Linked DNA regions of Homo sapiens: region 1 is linked to region 2. Evidence: promoter capture Hi-C in 16 types of primary human blood cells and fetal thymus (Javierre and others, 2016). All regions are on one chromosome and are shown on one strand. Each heading gives the region's core, a stretch centred on a gene start or on the middle of the fragment in contact. The rest is flanking DNA. Distances are from core to core; before and after follow the strand shown. Region 1 overlaps LRBA (LPS responsive beige-like anchor protein). Region 2 holds the start of DCLK2 (doublecortin like kinase 2).

The links. Contacts are between HindIII fragments. The CHiCAGO score rates a contact against its expected background, and 5 or more counts as called.
Region 1: a contact is called between a fragment that was not itself captured here and the fragment with the promoter of DCLK2 in region 2, in 1 of 17 cell types (M0 macrophages). The highest score is 5.2, in M0 macrophages.

What each region holds. Positions count from the first base shown.
Region 1 is chr4:150,867,980-150,871,047 of GRCh38, forward strand. It overlaps LRBA (LPS responsive beige-like anchor protein), which reads right to left. Exons shown (of 57, transcript NM_001364905.1): 20 at 2,546-2,627; 21 at 203-326. Among named protein-coding and RNA genes, the nearest start is that of LRBA, 150 kb to the right of the region's middle. The HindIII fragment of the contact is 4,699 bases long and covers 1-3,068 here.
Region 2 is chr4:150,077,023-150,079,993 of GRCh38, forward strand. DCLK2 (doublecortin like kinase 2) reads left to right here and starts at 1,423. Exons shown (of 16, transcript NM_001040260.4): 1 at 1,423-2,426. The coding sequence starts at 2,006. The HindIII fragment of the contact is 6,630 bases long and covers 667-2,971 here.

The sequences.
Region 1 (3,068 bases), core at 399-2,898, 790 kb after region 2:
TTTAGTTATACATTAAGAACAATTCGACAATGTGGTACTAAAAATTCTAACTTAACTATGTGGTACATTATTTACATACTCTTAATAAAAAAAATAGAAAAATCATTTCACAGTATTTTTAAAGCAATTTTTCTTAGATAAAATGGGCTTATACAAAAGTACATTTGAATACTGCAAATAAATGCTTTCTGATTCAGCTTACCTCCTGTTTTCTCTACTGTTATTAAAAAGTTTAATCATGTCAGAAAGAAAGGCTCTGCGAACCTCCATGCTCTCTGGGCACTGGGGAGAATTTCGAAGTAGGGTCGCAATTACTTTTAGTATCTCTGTAAGACAGTTTATAAATAAGTAAAAACCAAACTCAACAAAAAACTCATGATAGAAGGTCATCCATCTATTGCAATTTCTTTAGTTTCCCTAACACAAATGTCTACCAAAAACATCCTCTTCTGTTATTAAAAAAAATCACCTCTGGAAAGAAATGACAATACATTCATTAGAAAGCATTTATAAATATGAAAGGAAATTTCTTTCATGATTCAAATGTGCAAAAATAAAGCTGAACTTTAAAAGGTTAAAATAAAACAAGTTAAATTATAAATGAATTAAATGTCAGTGAAACTGCTTACTCTCTCTGAGATATACCAAATAGTAAAGTTGATCTTAAAAACAAGCAGGCCGGGCGAGGTGGCTCACGCCTGTAATTCCAACATTTTGGGAAGCTGAGGTGGGTGGATCACTTGAGGTCAGGAGTTCGAGAGCGGCCTGGCCAACATGGCAAAACCCCATCTCTACTAAAAATATAAAAATTAGCCAGGTGTGGTGGCGTGTGCCTGTAATCCCAGCTACTCAGGAGGGTGAGACAGGTGAATCGCTTGAACCCAGGAGGCAGAGGCTGCAGTGAGCCAAGATCGTGCCACTGCACCCCAGCCTAAGCGACACAGCAAGACTCTGTCTCAAAAAAAAATAATGAAATAAAATAAAAAATACTATAATCAAAATCTCAGAAAAATATAATAAATTCTTAGATTCCTCATCATAATTTATGGTATGCACACACAGTCTTTCATAGCTGGGATTATAGGCACCTGCCACCACGCCTAGCTAATTTTTGTATTTTTAGTAGAGACAGCGTTTCTCCGTCTTGGTCAGGGTGGTCTTGAACTCCTGACCTCGTGATCCACCTGCCTTGGCGTCCCAAAGTGCTGGGATTACAGGCATGAGCCACCACGGCCGGCCTACCATAGAGAATTTTTAAAGGTGTGAAGATTTTCTTTCATAATCTTAAAAGTAAAATTAGACACAAAAAACCCAAAGGAAATTAAAACCTATTCAACATCCCATCTCCCCAGAAAATGCAAACTAAACTACTATTGTAATGGTCTTAGCATAAAGCTATTTAAATCTCCAGAATTTAGCTTAAATTAGGCCAGGCACAGCGGCTCATGCCTGTAATCCCAGAACTTTGGGAGGCTGAGGCAGTTGGATAATTTGAGGTCAAGAGTTCAAGACCACCCTGGCCAACATGGCGAAATCCCATCTCCACAAAAAATACAAAAATTAGCCAGGCCTGGTAGCAGGCACCTGTAATCCCAGCTACCAGGGAGGCTGAGGCAGGAGAATCACTTGAACCAGGAGGCAGAGGTTACAGTGGCTGAGATCCTGGCACTCTACTCTAGTCTGGGCAACAGAGCACAAGACTCGGTCTCTAAATAAATAAATAATCTCCAGAACTTAGCTTCTTAGCTTAAATTAAAACAAAAAAAAAAATTCTTTTAAAAATATGCACTTAGACCAGGTGCAGTAGGCTCATGCCTGTAATACCAGCACTTTGGGAGGTTGAGGTGGGAAGATTGCTTGAGCCCAGGAGTTTTAGACCAGCCTGGGCAACATAGGCAAAATAATGACATCACGTTTCTCTGAAAGCTGAGGAAAATTAAACCTCAAAGCCACGTGCTTTGAAAATTAGCACTGGAGTACCAAACACACAAATACACCTAACCACATAAAATGTAATTAAATTTTAAAACTCTACAAACTAATAATTTTAATAACATGATCTTAAAAAGCAAGATGAAAAAGGTATACTTTATACAAGTGCTTAAGAATTCTAAATATCAAAAGAAAAGACTGTTTAACAAGACTATCTTCATAAACAATAAAGAAGACATATTGTTCTATTCCAAATTTGGTATTTTTATATTCACAGTAATTTAAGATAAAACTACCCCAATGGTTCTTGTAATTCTGCCTGACATCACTAAATAGCACAATCAAAATTTTGCTGAAAGTCTGAACATATATTACATCAAGACCTTAAGCAAACAATTCTTCAAAACCTTTATATAAGAATTTCCACATAACTTAAGGTTGATTCGAAGGAATACTCAATATAAAACCCAAACAAAACTAGTATAATATCATCACCCTTAATGAAACATTCATCTAACAATCTGTTTCAACAACATCAATTTTAGGTTGTTCACAGTGACTTTCTTTTTAAGTAGCAAAAGGTAGTTTTTGTTAAAGTATATAAAATACATACGAGGGTTTTGTATCTTCACTGAAGAATCAGGATCTGGATGCTGTTTATGTATCACCTGAGTACCAATCTGTTCTATAAGAATCTACAGAAGTAAAACAATGGATTACATTAGCAAATCACTGGATTAGCATCACTATTAATGAACTTTAAGTGCATCACTATTAATTAACTTTAAGTACAACACTAATCAAAATATAGTATATTTTTAGTCCAATATTGTCATGCTAAATAATATACTTCTAAAATAACTACAGCATTATTACTCTATGTTTTCTTAATTATAAAATGAGACATCAAATAGTTAATAAAATGGAGGGAACATTTAAACAGAAATAACGATACTGTTTAGAAATTCACAGATTAATTATAGATTTCTAAAAATGCAGCCACATCTCCTTATATCATTTCAAAGCTGTACATTACAAACTTAAATGGTCTGGTCAGCATGGTGGCTCATGCCTGTAATCCCAGCACTTTGGGAGGCTGAAGTGGGTAGATCGCCTGAGGTCAGGAGTTCGAGACC
Region 2 (2,971 bases), core at 173-2,672:
ATATACCTTAGGGGTACTTTTAAAAAAATACTGTTGGAGAAGCCCGTCTCCAGAAATTCTGATTTAACTGATCTAGGTTGAGGCCTTTTAAGGTGGTGGACCTAATGATGCTGCAGGATTTTCCTCTAGAAAAACTACATTGAAGCCTCAGATCAGCTCTGACTTCCTAGCATGCCCCAACCCCGCAGGAAGTTAGGTATGCCCAGGTGTATGCCCAGAACTGCCTTAGGAGTAGTATTGTGCACCGAGCAGGAGACCTTTCTGGAGCTGCCATGAAGGGTGTGTATGCGTGTGTGTGCGTGTGTTTGGTGGGGCGCACCAACTTCACAGATGCTAGACCGTTGCATGTGCTTCTACCTTCTTTTATTCATGCTCTTCCAGGACTCAGTTCAACCCGAAAAAAAGCAACTATGCCTTTCTTCCTGAAAGGTCAGTTTGGATTGCTGTCTAGGGCTGCTCAGAAAACCAGGTGTTGAATGTTCTAAGGTTTCACGTGCCAAATTGGGATCAAACATATTTGAGCTTTATTTTTCCTAATAACAAAATGCAAGTAACTAGTATTTCTCTTAAGTCTTGGAAAAGATGTTTTTATTGTTGAATAGACACTACGGCATTAAGATTTCCACTATGATGGGTGCTCACAAATGATAGGCCTCTTAGGTAAGAAGCTTTAATTGACAACATTAAATATGCGGGGCGGGGGGAGTGGGTGCAGAGTCTCTCTTTCCTTTGTTAGGGCATCCCAGTGACAGAAACAATGCCTGACACATGGTACGCTCTCGATAAATATTCGTTGATTACATAACCCCCTCTACCACCCAATAACTTCTCATCATTCATTCAAAGTTACTGAACGTACCATATTAGCGAATCTGCAATGGAAACAGTGGAGGCTGTTTTCTCAAAGGATTTTCTAATAAAGCAACAAATCTTTTTTAAAAAAAATGAATGGTGTGCCCCAAGTCAATGCTGGGCTTCGGATTTCTGCGGTAGTTTGGCCTGGGGTCCTCACTGGGATGCTGGCTGGGGATGTGCTCCCTGCCCTTGAATCTCCTTCCTTTGTAGTTTTTGGCCTGCGCGGTTACGTTTCCCAGGCGGAGGAGCGCGCGTCGCGGCTGCGCCCATTAACGCGCGGCGCCGGGCAGGAGCCGTCAGGCGGGCGGGGCTGCCCGGGACCCGCAGGAGCTGCTCCTCCCGCGCCGGCGCTCGGCCCCCTCCTCCGCCCCCTCCTCCGCCCCCTCCTCCCCTTCTCCGCGGTTTGGCATCCCCGGGGCCGGGAAGCCTCCTCCAGCGCTGACAGCCTGTCGGCGGCGGAGGGAGGCCAGAGCGCGGATGCTTGCCAGTGGGCCGGGCCTGACCGCTGCGTGGGAGGCGGGCTGCATTATTTCCCGCTAGGGCCGCGCTCCAGGGAAGGAAGGGGCCAGACACGGCCCTCTCAGCCCCGAACGGCGCGCGCTGCCCGGCGGGCGGGATCCGGGCGCGGCCGAGGCGGCGGCGCTGCACCCCGGGCCTGGGCCCGCGCGACTCCCCCGGGGGCCTCTCCCACGCTCCGCGCCCCGCCCCACCCTTCCTTCCTTCCTCCCCTCGGCGCTCCCGGGAGCGCTCGGCAGACGCCCGAGCTTTGTGGGCGCCCGCGGGCCCAGCGCGAGCCTCGGGCGGCCCAACTTTGCCTCTCCCGGTCGGCTCCCGAGCGGGACTTGTGAGGCGTGGCCGGGTGGAGGAGGCGCTTGCGGGGGCGTGGGGCTCCCCGGCAGGCGGGAGGCACGGAGCAAGTCGCACTGGACAATGACCTGGGCAGCTCGGCGCTGCGGACACTTTTAGCTGAGGGCGCGGGCGGGTCGGCTCCTCCGCGGCTCCTCGGCCCCACCTGCGCGGAGAGGGCGGGATGCCAGAGCCAGGTGTCCCGGCGCGTTAAGGGCCCTCGCAGTCAGACGTCCCTGCACCGGCGCTCGCACCCTTAGTCGGCCCGGAACGTCTTTTTGCGGACGCCCTCGGAGCAGCCGCGATGGCCAGCACCAGGAGTATCGAGCTGGAGCACTTTGAGGAACGGGACAAAAGGCCGCGGCCGGGGTCGCGGAGAGGGGCCCCCAGCTCCTCCGGGGGCAGCAGCAGCTCGGGCCCCAAGGGGAACGGGCTCATCCCCAGTCCGGCGCACAGTGCCCACTGCAGCTTCTACCGCACGCGGACCCTGCAGGCCCTCAGCTCGGAGAAGAAGGCCAAGAAGGCGCGCTTCTACCGGAACGGGGACCGCTACTTCAAGGGCCTGGTGTTTGCCATCTCCAGCGACCGCTTCCGGTCCTTCGATGCGCTCCTCATAGAGCTCACCCGCTCCCTGTCGGACAACGTGAACCTGCCCCAGGGTGTCCGCACTATCTACACCATCGACGGCAGCCGGAAGGTCACCAGCCTGGACGAGCTGCTGGAAGGTAGGAGGGGAGGGCGCCGCACGGCAGGTGCGGCGGAGCGCCGGCAGGTGCAGTGGGCGTGAGCCGGCGCAGCGGGGAGCCCGCGGGGTGCTTTCCAAGCCGCACGGGAATTGATGCTTCTGTCTGCTTCTCTAGAGATTGGCTGGGGGTGGGGGCCGGTGGGGTGCCCACATACACACTGACTTTCCTTCCCAAGAGGTTTGTCTCTTAAAGAAGGAAAAAATTTCCTGATGGTCAGGCCAATTTAGGCACTGGTGGCATCTCCTAAGATTGTTGAACTTATTTGTATTGAAGTGCAAACTGTTTGAGAAAATGGTTCTCCCATGGGGAGCTGGGTAATCCCCTACTAATAAGCTCTGTTGGACCCTCGGTGTGGACCCTGGTGCAGGCTCCTGTCATGTTCCAGTATTCGGGGTCCTGTTGTGACTGCTGTCAGAAGCTGTGGTTGTGAAATGCTCTAGGTTGGCTTTCCTAGTTTGCCTTGCAGCAGAAGTTACTTGAGGTGAAGAGGGATGATCCTAGACAGCAGGTCTCAACCTTGGCTT